Regions from separate parts of the Homo sapiens genome. Here regions 1, 2 and 4 are each linked to region 3. Evidence: promoter capture Hi-C in 16 types of primary human blood cells and fetal thymus (Javierre and others, 2016). All regions are on one chromosome and are shown on one strand. The core of a region is centred on a gene start or on the middle of the fragment in contact, and the rest is flanking DNA. Distances in the headings are between cores, read along the strand shown.

The links. Contacts are between HindIII fragments. The CHiCAGO score rates a contact against its expected background, and 5 or more counts as called.
Region 1: a contact is called between a fragment that was not itself captured here and the fragment with the promoter of SETD3 in region 3, in 1 of 17 cell types (neutrophils). The highest score is 5.6, in neutrophils.
Region 2: a fragment that was not itself captured here is called in contact with the fragment with the promoter of SETD3 in region 3 in 1 of 17 cell types (neutrophils); the score reaches 14.3 in neutrophils.
Region 4: a contact is called between the fragment with the promoter of CDCA4 here and the fragment with the promoter of SETD3 in region 3, in 1 of 17 cell types (neutrophils). The highest score is 5.7, in neutrophils.

What each region holds. Positions count from the first base shown.
Region 1 is chr14:104,754,944-104,757,822 of GRCh38, reverse strand. SIVA1 (SIVA1 apoptosis inducing factor) reads right to left here. Exons shown (of 4, transcript NM_006427.4): 2 at 1,999-2,193; 3 at 1,063-1,219. It overlaps LOC107987209 (a long non-coding RNA gene), which reads left to right. Exons shown (of 3, transcript XR_001750915.3): 2 at 403-1,417. Among named protein-coding and RNA genes, the nearest start is that of SIVA1, 3.2 kb to the right of the region's middle. The HindIII fragment of the contact is 2,093 bases long and covers 436-2,528 here.
Region 2 is chr14:105,056,817-105,059,809 of GRCh38, reverse strand. It overlaps GPR132 (G protein-coupled receptor 132), which reads left to right. Exons shown (of 4, transcript NM_013345.4): 2 at 2,530-2,643. Among named protein-coding and RNA genes, the nearest start is that of GPR132, 7.1 kb to the left of the region's middle. The HindIII fragment of the contact is 2,666 bases long and covers 1-2,599 here.
Region 3 is chr14:99,479,258-99,482,405 of GRCh38, reverse strand. SETD3 (SET domain containing 3, actin N3(tau)-histidine methyltransferase) reads left to right here and starts at 1,547. Exons shown (of 13, transcript NM_032233.3): 1 at 1,547-1,678. It overlaps CCNK (cyclin K), which reads right to left and starts at 997. Exons shown (of 11, transcript NM_001099402.2): 1 at 927-997. RefSeq lists enhancers at 737-1,106, 1,915-2,416 and silencers at 1,297-1,756, 1,867-2,066. The HindIII fragment of the contact is 7,554 bases long and covers 1-3,148 here.
Region 4 is chr14:105,019,805-105,022,878 of GRCh38, reverse strand. CDCA4 (cell division cycle associated 4) reads left to right here and starts at 1,796. Exons shown (of 2, transcript NM_017955.4): 1 at 1,796-1,880. RefSeq lists enhancers at 1,001-1,060, 1,076-1,589, 2,104-2,619, 3,071-3,074 and silencers at 1,361-1,430, 1,461-2,350, 2,361-2,450. The HindIII fragment of the contact is 6,687 bases long and covers 1-3,074 here.

The sequences.
Region 1 (2,879 bases), core at 233-2,732, 5.3 Mb before region 3:
GGAGGCCAGCCACGCAGCGCTCTGGGACCCACCTCTCCGCTGAACCTGCCCATGGCTATGTTCACTTCTGCTTTGGTGAGAGGGCCACCAGACAATGAGAAAACCCTGCCCTTTTCAGTTTACTTCTAGGAAAGAAGATGAACTCAGCGGGTGAAAAGCAAAGACAGAGTATCCCACATTCATAGCTAGCCCTGCAGATGATTCCCAACCTGGATGGGGTGCGTTACCCCACTCCTGCCCATGCTGAAGCCATGGGAGCCGATCACTGGCACGCGGCGCTTCTCCCTGGTGCTGCCCCCCCTGCCCAGGGCTCTCCGTCTCCAATGAGTCTGGGCCTCTGCCCCGACTGAAGAAAGGCTCGAGAGAAAGGACTCGAGATGTAACATGTGGTTTCTATTTTAGATGGACAATTTCAGACATTGTTTGGACTAAGCTTGCTTTGGGTCTATGGAGCCAGTTCCACATGTGTCTGGATGAAGTCATCTTTCTCACGGGGCAGGGCAAACAGGCTCCACACTGTCCACTCCCATCCACCAGGTGAGTAGCCCCTAGGGTGAGAACGCCCCTCCCCACCTTAGGAGTAAGGACGGGATCCAGCCAGCTGCAGCAAACCCACCCACAAATGGGAGACTACACAAACACTCCACTTCCTGCCTGAGAGGGTCTACAACCAAACGGCACGCATGACTGTGGTGAAGCTGCGGTGTGCACCTGTGTCACCAACCAGGGGCTCCTCGGACGGGGGGAGGGGGGGCTCAAAGACCAGAGGAGGAGGAGGTGGGGGTGCTCAAAGATCAGAACAGGAAGTGGCTGAAGACAGGGACTAGAGCCGGATACAGAGCAGGTCATCTGTGAGGTTCAGCTTTCCCTTAGAGAGGATTACTAACCACTAAAGTTGGGCCAAGCATCTATTGCCACCATGTCCCGTTAGGCAATGCCAGATGGCACTGCATCAGGGGCCACACGTGTGTGTTCTGGGCCCACATGGGTGACCCACCCGTCCCCCATCACGGCTTGCTGGGGCTATGGGATCTCAGCAGCTCCAGGGACTGAAGTACTTACTCCACGAGGCCACACAGGGTACAGGCCACGGAGCCGCAGCCCCAGCAGGTGCGCACACACTGCCCGCACAGGGCTCGCTCACACTGACCGCAGACCGCCTTCCCATCCACGGCTCGCACGCATGAGGAACAGGCAATGGACGCTACCCCAGATGGGTCTGTGAGGAAGAAACGCCAAGCCGTCAGGCTGCAAGGAGACTGGAGTTTCCGGGACTGCCGGGCTACCTGCCTCCATGCATACCTGAGGGCAGAGGGCTCTGACCTGCCTACCCCATCCCCACCTACACTGGATCCTTCTGACAACCCGTGAGCCTGGTACAGTGCACAGGACCCCCGTTTTACTACAGAGATCCAAGGTGAGATATGCCTGTAGTTGACTCCAAGTTCAGTGCTCTTTCCCTTACCAGGTCCCTCTGCTACCTGGAGGCTAGTGCTGGAAGGACCATTCTTCCCCTGTTGCTTGTCAGAACTCCATGTGTCCCATCTGGGTCTCAGTGTGGCCCACTGCCTTACTGGTTAACAAAGAGGTGCCTGGGCTCCTCCTAGACACACCAACCAGACTTGAGGTAGAGTCGGGGATTGCATTTCTAACCAGCAACACAGGTGATGCTCTGAGACCCCACACTGCATAGGGATGGGACTGGCATGTTTCCAGCCTTGTGGGACTATCTGAGGGGGCTGCAGGCGGAAAGCAGACGGGATACCCGGGGAGTCTCTGCTGCTTTTTTGGCCCAGTACTTAGAAGCTGTTTAACAACTTCCAGTCTTGAATGTGAGACCTCCTGATAACAGGAGCCTTCTGAGCCAGAAGGCCAAGCTCTGGGTCAGAGTCCTGCTTACCCAGGGAGGAAAAGCCTGACCTTGCAAATCAAGAAAAATGCTCGTGCCACCACCTGCCCTCAGTGCCACAGCCACAAAGGGCTGCTGGTGCCACTCACCAGCTTCGGAGGCCTGCCCAAGGCTCCTGATCAGGCGGCCGTCTGGTCCAATCAGCATCTGCCCACGTGCAGCCCTCGGGGCCCCTGTAGGGCCAGGCTTTGGGGACTCTGGCAGGTGAACGACGGCACAGCCTTCATCCCACACGTGGTCCAGGTAGGCCTGGGCCCCGAGGAACAGGAGTCGCTTGGTCTTCTCTGGGGGAAGATAAATCATTCTCACGTCCTTCACTGTGTACCAACGAAGCCCCTGCATGGCCATTGAGTCTTTCTAGCCTCACATGAACCCCATCGTCCTCCTGTGTGCCCTCTGTCTCCCAGTAACCCCAGCCTGTGTTGTGCCCTGGCGAGCTGGGTCCTGCTCTGCCTCTATGCTGAGAATGCTTGTGCGTCCTTTCCTTACCTGGCTTAGCTGTCATCTCCTCCAGGAAGGCTCTGGCCCTGCAGCCCCACCTGTGTCTGATGCAAGGGTTCCCTCTCCTATCACTCGGCTCATTTTCTGCAATTCACGGCTGGCCTCGCCTCACTAAGCTTGTCCCCTTTCTCCCTTTTCTGCTTCCCCAGCACTCCCCACCTGGAAACCAGGCTCTGTGGAATGCACAGAGGGAGCTCTGCACTGTGGAGCACTAATTCACAAAACTCGTCCCCTGCCAAGGAAGCAGCCAGAGGCTTGGAGCTGGGCCTACAGCCTCTGGCCAGAGCACACCCCCTTCACCTGCTACAGAGTTGCTGGCAAGACAAGCATCCCAGAACCTTCCAGACCTCTTGTTCTAGAACACCCACCCATCCCTGGGAGCAGTGGTTTTCCATCAGGCCACAGTTCAGTCACCTGGGGAGCTTTGAAAAATCAGATGCCCAGGGCCAGACCCAGAAATGCTTTGTTT
Region 2 (2,993 bases), core at 17-2,516, 5.6 Mb before region 3:
CTCAATCATTTTAGGAGGTTTATTTGCTAAAGTTGAGGACACGCGTCTGTGACACAGCCTCAGGAAGTCCTGATGACGTGCCCAGGGTGGTCGGGCGCAGCCTGGTTTCATGCATTTTAGGGAGACAAGAGACATCAATCAATATATGTGAGACGTACATTGGTTCCGTCCAGAAAGGTGGGGACAACTCGAAGCAGGGAGGGGGCTTCCCAACCATTTGTCTCTCGCCTACACAGGTAGGCGAGAGACAAATGGTTGCATTGTTTTCAGTTTCTGATAAGTCTCTCCAAAGGAGGCATCAGAATATGCATCTGTCTCAGTGAGCAGAGGGATGACTGAATAGAACGCCAGGCAGATCGGCGCTGAGCAGTTCCCAGCTTGAAGGGGCCCAAGATACTTTCCTTTCACAGAAATATACTTGAAAGGGCAGCTGGGGATGTCAACACACAGGCAGCCCCACCTGCTGGCCCAGAGCCCTTGGTGTGGGTGTCCCTGGGTTCTGCCTCACTTTTGAGCAGCTTCCAGAGAATTCCTGCAAGAGCCACGTGGGATGGGCGGGAAGAGCAAGTGGCTCCAGGGAGTGCCCCTGGCCAGCCTCTCAACATACAGGCCTCGGGCCCAAAGGGGCCTTGCTGTGTAGGGGCTCTGCCCGCAGCCGGGCCGGCCCTGCCCTGGGAGGGGAGTGTGCACTGGGAGACTGACTGCACCTGCTGGCTTCCCATGAGGGTCTCGGCTGATAGAGGGCAGCACCAGGCAGCATGGGGTGGGGGTTGGGCCTGGCACCAGGGAGGCAGGATTGGAGCTAGTGAGGCAGCCGCCAGGCTCAGCCTCTATCCCTGCACTGCAGGGCCCGGAAACAGCAGAGCGAGACCCTCAGGCTTTGCAGGGCTGTGGGAGAGGCACAAACACCATCTGAGGATGGGTTTAGGGCGCTCTCCTCCCTGCAAACCCTCTTTGGCTGGTCAGGGTGGTGCCTGTTTTAGAGGCACCTCAGGTTAGGGAAGGAAGCAGAGGGACAGGCCCCTGGGCGCCTTGCGCCACCCCCCTGCATGCCCTGAGCCATCTGCTGCCCGCCCATCATGCCTCCCTCCTCCGGGCCCCTCATGCTGTGGGTGACACAGCTTCCAGGCCATGTGCACGTCACACCTCGGGTAGCCAGGAAAAATTCCTAGAAGGGGATCAGCCAGGTCAAAAGTAGAGCACATTTGAGATTTTTGGAAACATATTGCAAAATTTTGCTGCGAGCCAATTCATACTTCCGTCAGTCCCGTGTACGGGCACCCATTGCCTACTCTCAAACACTATGAGTTTAAAAGGTCTTTATTTTTGCCAACATGATAGGCCAAAAAAAGATTTTAAAAGACTGTCTTTCAGATATTCATGTTTGCATTTCTTTGATTAGAAGTGGAGTTGAACATTTTTCAGATTTTAGGAGCTTTTCTTTTTTCTTGAGACGGGGTCTCTCTCTGTAGCCAGGCCGGAGTGCAGCAGCTCAGTCACAGCTCACTGCAACCCCTACCTCCTGGGCTCAAGCGATCCTCCCAACTCAGCCTCCTGGGTAGCTGGGACTACACGTGTGCACCATCATGCCTGTTTATATTTTTGTAGGTGTGGGGTGTTACTATATTGCCCAGGCTGGTCTTGAACTCCTGGACTCCAGCTATCCTCCCACCTCAGCTTCTCAAAGGGCTGGGATTTACAGCCATGAGTTACCACACCTGGCCTTTAGGAGCTATTTTTATGTTTTCTGTGAAAGCTCATCAACTTTCTTTTCTCTCCCAGCTTTATAAAGGTATAATTGACAAACAAGAAGAGTACCTAGGCCAGGTGCGGTGGCTTACGCCTGTAATCCCAGCACTTTGGGAGGCCGAGGTGGGTGGATCATTTGAGGTCAGGAGTTTGAGACCAGCCTGCCCAACATGGTGAGACCCCGTCTCTACTAAAAATACAAAATCTAGCTGGGGATGGTGGCGCGTGTGTGTAGTCCCAGCTACTTGGGAGGCTAAGACAGGAGAATCGCTTGAACCCAGGAGGCGGAGGTTGCAGTGAGCCGAGATCATGCCATTGCACTCCAGCCTGGGCAACAGAGTGCGACTCTGTCTCAAAAAAAAAAAAAAAAAAATTAGCTGGGGGTGGTGGCAGGCGACTGTACTCCCAGCTACTCAAGAGGCTGCTGCAGGAGAATAGTTTGAACCCGGGAGGCAGAGGTTGCAGTGAGCCGAGATTGTGCTACTGCACTCCAGCCTGGGCGACAGAGCAAGACTCCATCTCAAGAAAAAAAAAAAAAAAAAAAAAAAAGAATCGTATGTAGTCGCAGTGGCTAATGTGACGTTTTGATGCCTGTTGGCTTGGAGCCTTGCTTGTGTTTCTCATGTGGGATGCAACGGCAGATTCTCAACATTTAAAAAACACCTACGAATCAACGGGCCACTTAGTAAATTAGTAAATACTCACTAGCCGTTTGTCAATGGGTTAACTTGTGACTCAATCTGATTTCCCTAAAACAATTTCAACCTACTCTTTTTCCAGGTCATTTTAAACTCTCAGAGTGAACGTCTTGATAGGACCGACAAGACGCATGACATGTACTTAGAAAGCTTATCTTAGAGCCACACTGAGATTGGAACCCGCAAAATATGCCAGGTGAGAGAGCCTTCTCCGACTTTGAACATGTAAGAGGAAGCCCATGAGAATTTTTCCATGAAGCATGTTGTCTCATAATTCAAAAATTAACGCATAAAAATAGATTATCGAGATAAAAACTAGCTCAGCAATAATAAATCTAGAGGTGCTACATGGAGAAATGAAGGACTGATTTCATAATTCTTTCGTGAAGTTCTGGGAAGCCAGGAACGGGAATGAGGGCATAGTTGGTGGCTCCTGGGAGGGCGACACAGTACTGAGTCAGGGGGCTGTCCCACAGGTCCCAGGGGAGCCCTGCACGGTCTGGGCCATGAGGAGCTGACCACCAGCCCCCCGCATCCATGCGTCTC
Region 3 (3,148 bases), core at 298-2,797:
CGTCAGGCAGTGTTCTAGGCGCTGAAAGCTCCTCGCTTTCATTCTAGCAACATCATTCATACAAACCTTTAGCGGGCACCTACAACTGCAAGGCATTGTGCTAGGTATCTGTAAACAGCGATTTAGATCGAGATACACAAACATCACCAAGTTTCTCTTAAAAACACAGAAGACCACCCTTAAGAAATGCTCTTAGAAATAGTTCCTAACCTCAGATGACTTAGCGAAAGCTCCGTTTAACTGGCAGTCTAAATTTAGGGAGCATTACCGAGCCTATCTTGGGCAGACAATCGTTTAGGAGCTGTCACATAACCTCTAGACTTACGCTCCAATTTTCTAAAGAACAATTTCTCTCATAACAAACCAAATCAACCACCAGGAGCGGGTCCGTAAAGACGATGTCTGGGCAAGAACGAAATCTAATCCCGGAAGTGCCTTTTCCTCATCTTAGCCGCACCCTCGTTACGTGGCTCTCCAAAACTCCAAAGTCGGAGTACCCTAGACATGGAACAACCTCCAAAAAGTTTCAGGCCTAGCCAAGGTTGGGACTAATACGCCGCGAAATAATCGGGGAGATATGAGAAGTCTGTGGCTGTGAGACTGTGCGCGGTTAACACCGCTGCCCCTTTTGCCCAACCCCTAGAAAGTTCCCCAACTCTGACTGCCCCCCAGTGCGAGGGCCGCTACCAGTTCTAGGGTGAGTCCGGCCTCCCTGCCCCGCCCCGGCGCCTCAGACCCTCTCTACACGCCCGCCCCACAACCCCGCGTCGCCCGCAAAGTTCAATGTGTACCGGAGGTTAGCGGAGGGAGGCAGAATCCGGAAAGAGAGACTCCGCCAGTGGATAGCGGCGGTTGGCCATAACCTACTCCGACCTCCAGATACGCGGGAGGTGGGCGGCGCTGCCCTCAGTCGGTGGGTCACTCACCCCTCGCTTCAGGCAAGCCCCTCAGCGACGTCTCTCCTTGCCGACTGCGGCCATCTTGTATATGGAATGTCGGGGACCTACGTCATCACGCTGCGTCCTGAGACGCCACCAAGCGACCGGAGGGGCGGAGAGAGTAGGATGCCTGTCAACCAATGGGAAGAAAGCAGAGCTCTCAAAAGAGGAACGAGCCGCCGCTCTCCTCCCCGCCCGCCCCGCGGGTCAGTGGCTGCTGCTTACAGAGGGAGGAGCCAGCCACAGGGCCCATCCCGTCGGTCCCGCCCCTCGGGGCGAAAAGGCATTCTGGAGCAACCGAACCTGCTAACGGAACTTGGGCGCGTAGGCGGGGCCCGGGTCGAGATTCGTCCAATCAAAGCTCTGGCGGGGGCGAACGCAGCCAGTTGCGACATCGTGGTTGGCGGCGGCTGAGCCGGCCGCTCTTGCCCCCGGGAGCTGCCAGCCCACTGGCTGGGGAGGACCCCGAACGGAACGCCGGCTGGGTGGCGGGGCGGGGCCGCGCCCATGCGTCCGAAGCGTGGGCCAATGAACGGCGGCGGCTGCGGCCCGGGGGCGGGGTCCGGGGCGGGAGGAGAAGCGTTGGGCCGCGGTCGCGGGGCCGTCTCAGGCTGCCGTCCCGCCCCTCCCGTCCGGCCGCCGCCGCCGCCACCGCCGCCACCGCCTGGGGGTTGGTTGAGGCGGACGGCGGGGTCCGGGCCGGAGTACGTCGTTCCCGCTGCGCTAGGGGAAGCGGGCAGGTGAGTGCTGGCGGCGGTCTCTGCGCCCGCGCGGCCCGCGGGGGAAACTCGCGCCGCGTCTCCGAGCTCTGCGAGGCCGTCCCTCGCCCTGGCCAGCGCCCCTCGGCCGAAGTCCGGCCCGCGCCCCCGCCAGGGTCCCCGCCGGCCGCTGTGGCCCCGGGGCTTGAAGGGGCAGGTGTGCGCTCGGGGGCCAGGGCGAGGAGGGCCCGGCGGGGTCGGAGGGCGCCGGTCGGCCTCTGCCCGGGCGCCCTGCGGGGCGAGAGGCGCGCGCTCGCCGCTGCCCTGTCCCCTCTGGCGCCCACGCTCCCGGGCCCCGCGCCACCCGGTCTCGAGGTGGTGCCAGGTGCAGGCAGCGCTCTCCCCGAGCTTGCCCCGCTGTCCCCGGCCCTCGCGCCTGCTCTCGGGTGGGGCCCGGGCCCCTCGCGCTAGTCGGCTCGGCTCTGCGCGCGGCCGGGTCGCGCTCCCATTTCCTTCCTTCCTCCCGTCACCCCGCTGCTCGGGGAAGGCTGTGCGGTTTTATGTTCCTCTCTGCGAGTTCTCGGTGCCCACCAGGGTGCCCGGGGACCAGCCCCCGCCTCCTCCCGCGCCGTCCAGTTAGGAAGACGGACGTAGGAAATAGGTCGTCTTTCTTCCCACGCGCCCCTGGCCGTGCTCCACACGCGCAGTGCCCTACTAGGGAGAGGCAATTCGGTGCTTTAGAGTTTGTCATTCCGGCGTTAACTCTTCCTCCTCGTGGCTCCAGCCCGGCGATGCAACTCTTGTCTTTTCCCGGTCTCCACTTGGGAAAAGGAGCTGACAGTGACGCGCGCCCCTGGCTGCGGGGCTCACCCCTGCCCGGCCGGTGTTGGGAGGAGGGCATTTCAGTGTTGCAAAGGCATTCGCGGGTTAGGACCACTCGGACCGTGTTATTTTGCTTTTCTAAATAAATAAGGTGATGTTTCAAAAGCAAAAATACTTTTAAAGTATGCTGACAAATCAATTTTGCTTTTAAGAATCCTCGAAGAGTTACCCCATCTTCGTAGCCTGATTGTGGTGCTGATGAGGCCACTATAAATGCGTTTGTCAGAACTCAGAACCGGACACTGAAAAGTGTGAATTTTATCTTATGTAAAATATACCTCTCCCTCTCCCGTTTTTCTTCTTGAAATGACCTTGCCAGTATTTCAAAACTGAACTAACCAGTAATAATCTCGGAGAAGTGTTTATTATTTTAAGCGAATACATTTAACCCAAGAATATAGCAAAATAAAGCAGTCTTCCTCTCCACTGTTAAAATTTGCCAAGACTTGCTTGAACCTTGCTGTATGTACTGTGTTTATACGGGCTACCATGCGTGAAAGTCCAGCAGTACTGGATTAGTCCCAAGGGCTGCCGTGATTGATACTTTGGTGAAATTCCAACAGTTTACCGAGGAGTTTTTCTTCGGCCTAAGAAAGTAGTTTGCAAAGCCAAGTTCTCAAACAGCTACAG
Region 4 (3,074 bases), core at 547-3,046, 5.5 Mb before region 3:
CAGGCTGGAGTGCAGTGGTGCAATCATAGTTCACTGCAGCCTCCAACTCCTGGGCTCAAGGGATTCTCTCACCCCAGCCTCCTGAGTAGCTGGGATTACAGGTGGGTGCCACTATTTCCAAACCACTTTTCTTTGGTGATCTAGATTTCATTTGCATTTGCAGAATATCTGTATATTAAGGAATTTAACCTTTATGTGGGATACAGCCAGGAAAAACTTTTTTCCCCATTTGTCTTTTCACTTTGACATGCATAAACTTTAAATTCTCAGGTAGTCACCTTTATCAAGTCCCATTTTCTTTTACCTGGGCAGTAACCTAATGGGATTTTCTACTTCCAGCCTTCCTGCCACCTCCTCCAAATCTATTACCAACAGTGATTCTTGGTGGTTGTGGTGCCTCATGCCTGTAATCCCAGAACTTTGGGAGGCCAAGGTAGGAGGATCACTTAAGGCCAGGAGTTGGAGACCAGCCTGTGTAACAAGACAATACCCTGTCTCTACAAAATTACCAAAAAAAAAAAAAAAGTTAGCTTGGTGTAGTGGCACACTTCTGTAGTCCCAGCTACTTGGGAGGCTGAGGCGTGAGAATCACTCGAGCACAAGAGTTCGAGGATACAGTGAGCCATAATCACGCCACTGTTGTCCAGCCTGGGCGAAAGAGACCCCCTTTTTTTTTTTTTTAAATAAGAACAGTGATTCTTTTCAAGCACAATTCAGATTCCAGTTCCTTCTCTGCTGACCATGCCAGTAGTCTCCATCCCACTCCCAGAATAGCCCAAAAGTCCCTCCACCCCTCACACTTAAAACTTTCCCACGAGATCACAGGGTTCTTTCTCACTGCACTGAGACGTGCTCCTGCCTCCTGCCCCTGCCTCGGGCTTTGCCCCAGCCATTCCTCTCCTGAATTCTCGTCCACTCTTCCTTTTGGTGCTTTAAGACGCTCCTTATCCTAGAGACCTATGTGAGCAGCGCCCCCACGTCACTCCCAGGTTTCCCGACAGCATTTCAGCATTTACCACCGACCTTGGCGCATCCGCACCTGCGGATTGATCTGAGGATTCCCCCCCAACTTCCAGCACTTGGCTCTCAGCTGCAGCCACGCCTGCCGGGCCTGCTGCAGGCGCTCAGGGTATTACTTAAGTCAATGATTGCAGGTTCTCGCATCCTATTTAAAACCTTTTCCACTAAGAGATTTAAAACACGTGTCCCCTGCTTTGAACTTTCACGTTACATTTCTTACGTGTAAACCTAGGAAGCCTTTGGAGATAACCCCGGTCTCTGGAGAGGCTTGGATAGACCTCGGAGCCCAGACCGCCCGGGAATTGCCGTGCCCGGCTCCTCCCGACCCCGGCACGGATGCCTCGGCGGAGAAGTTGAGCCAGGCAGAAGCGAGAGAGTCCAAACCTCTGTTTGCCCCGCCACGCCCGCCCGAGGGCCCCACGTGGGCCCCAGGCGCAGGCGCGTTCAGTTCAGGGCCAGACGCGCGGAGACCTGGGAGCTGGCGGGGCGGGGCCGGACTGGGCGCGGGGAGACCTGGGAGCCGGCGGGGCGTGGGCGTGGCGGGGCCGGGCGCAGGGGCGGGGGCGGGGCAACCGAGGGCGCGCGCGAGCCCCAACGGCCGTCGCCGCAGCGCGGGAAGACGCGCCACAGATGCCCCGCCCGCGTGGGTTTGAACAAGAGGCCCCGCCCCCGGCCCGCGAGTGGCCAATCAGCGGGCGTAGCGCGCGGAGAGCGCAGCGTCGACCCTTTGTGGACGCCGAGTGGCGGTCGCTCGCCCCGCCCCGCGCCGTCGGGCGCTCCTTCCTCAGCGGCGGGAAGCTGGCGGCAGCGGCGGTGGCGGTGGCTGAGCAGAGGACCCGGCGGGCGGCCTCGCGGGTCAGGTGAGCGGGCCCGGCGGACCGCTAGGGCGTCTACGGCGGCGTGCACTTTTGTGCTGCAGGGCGCGGAGGAGCCTGGGGGCGGTGCGCGGAGTCTGTGGCTCCTGGCGCTGGGTCCGGGGCGGAGGCGGCGCCCGGGACCACCGCTGGGGCTGCCGCGGCGCCCTCGCCGCCCTCCTGGGCGCTGGTTCCCCCGCGGGGTGGCCGCTGCTGAGGGGGCCCGGGGAACAGAGGGGCCCGGGCCGCCGTCTGCGTTCCTTGCGGAGCGCGGAGCTGGGGCTTTGCCGAGGCCTGCGGGCGGCCCCACGCGGGAGCCGCTTCACGAGGGCCCGGCTGGGGTACGCAGCGGCGTTTCCCGTACCTCGGCTCTAGTTGCAGCGGAGGGAACGCCAGGCGCGCCGCAGCCCCCTCTGTCGGAGCCCGGCCGCGGAGAGGGCCGCGGATGTGGGAGGAGGCCCAGACCCCGGGCGGGTCGGCCAGCGCCGTCTTCCCTGGGCTCCTCCGGCGGTGCGAGGTGGGACTAGGGAAAGTCCCCGAGACACTTGCAGAAGTCAGACGCAAGCCTCCCTCCGCGTCTTCAGACGCTTCTCGCCCCGCAAACAGGATCGTCGTGGCAAAGGCTCCGACAGCTTGCTGGAATAGAGGGTCTCCGCTGCCTCGCTTCTCCTGTGGCCTTCGTGTGGGACGCACGGGACGGCGGGACCCAGATAACCGTTCTCTCAAAGCGAGCCACAGAAAAACATTGCCTGTTCACAAAACTTACGTTTTATCAACTTTCTACGTACAACCACTCTATTTTCAAGTGTCACCGTGTTTTATAATTAGGGTGGAAATCCAGAATACAAAGTGAGTTACACCCCTTTTCTAGGAAGAGTAGTAGGCTGTATCTTGGAAAAGGGGCTAGGAAGTTTCCCTCAACTTGCCACTGGAACATGTTTTCAGGGAAAAGAAGGAGTGTGTTTCGTTCCAAGTAACAAAAGTACCTGCAATTGGCTGGGCGCGGTAGCTCACACCTCCCAGCACTTTGAGAGGAGGCCTAGGCGGGTGGATCTCCTGAGGTCCCGAGTTCGAGACTAGCTGGCCAACGTGGTGAAACCCCGTCTGTACTAAAAATACAAAAATTAGCTGGGCGTGATGGCGCATGCCTGTAATCATAATCCTAGCTATGTGGGAGGCTGAGGCAGGAGAATCGCTTGA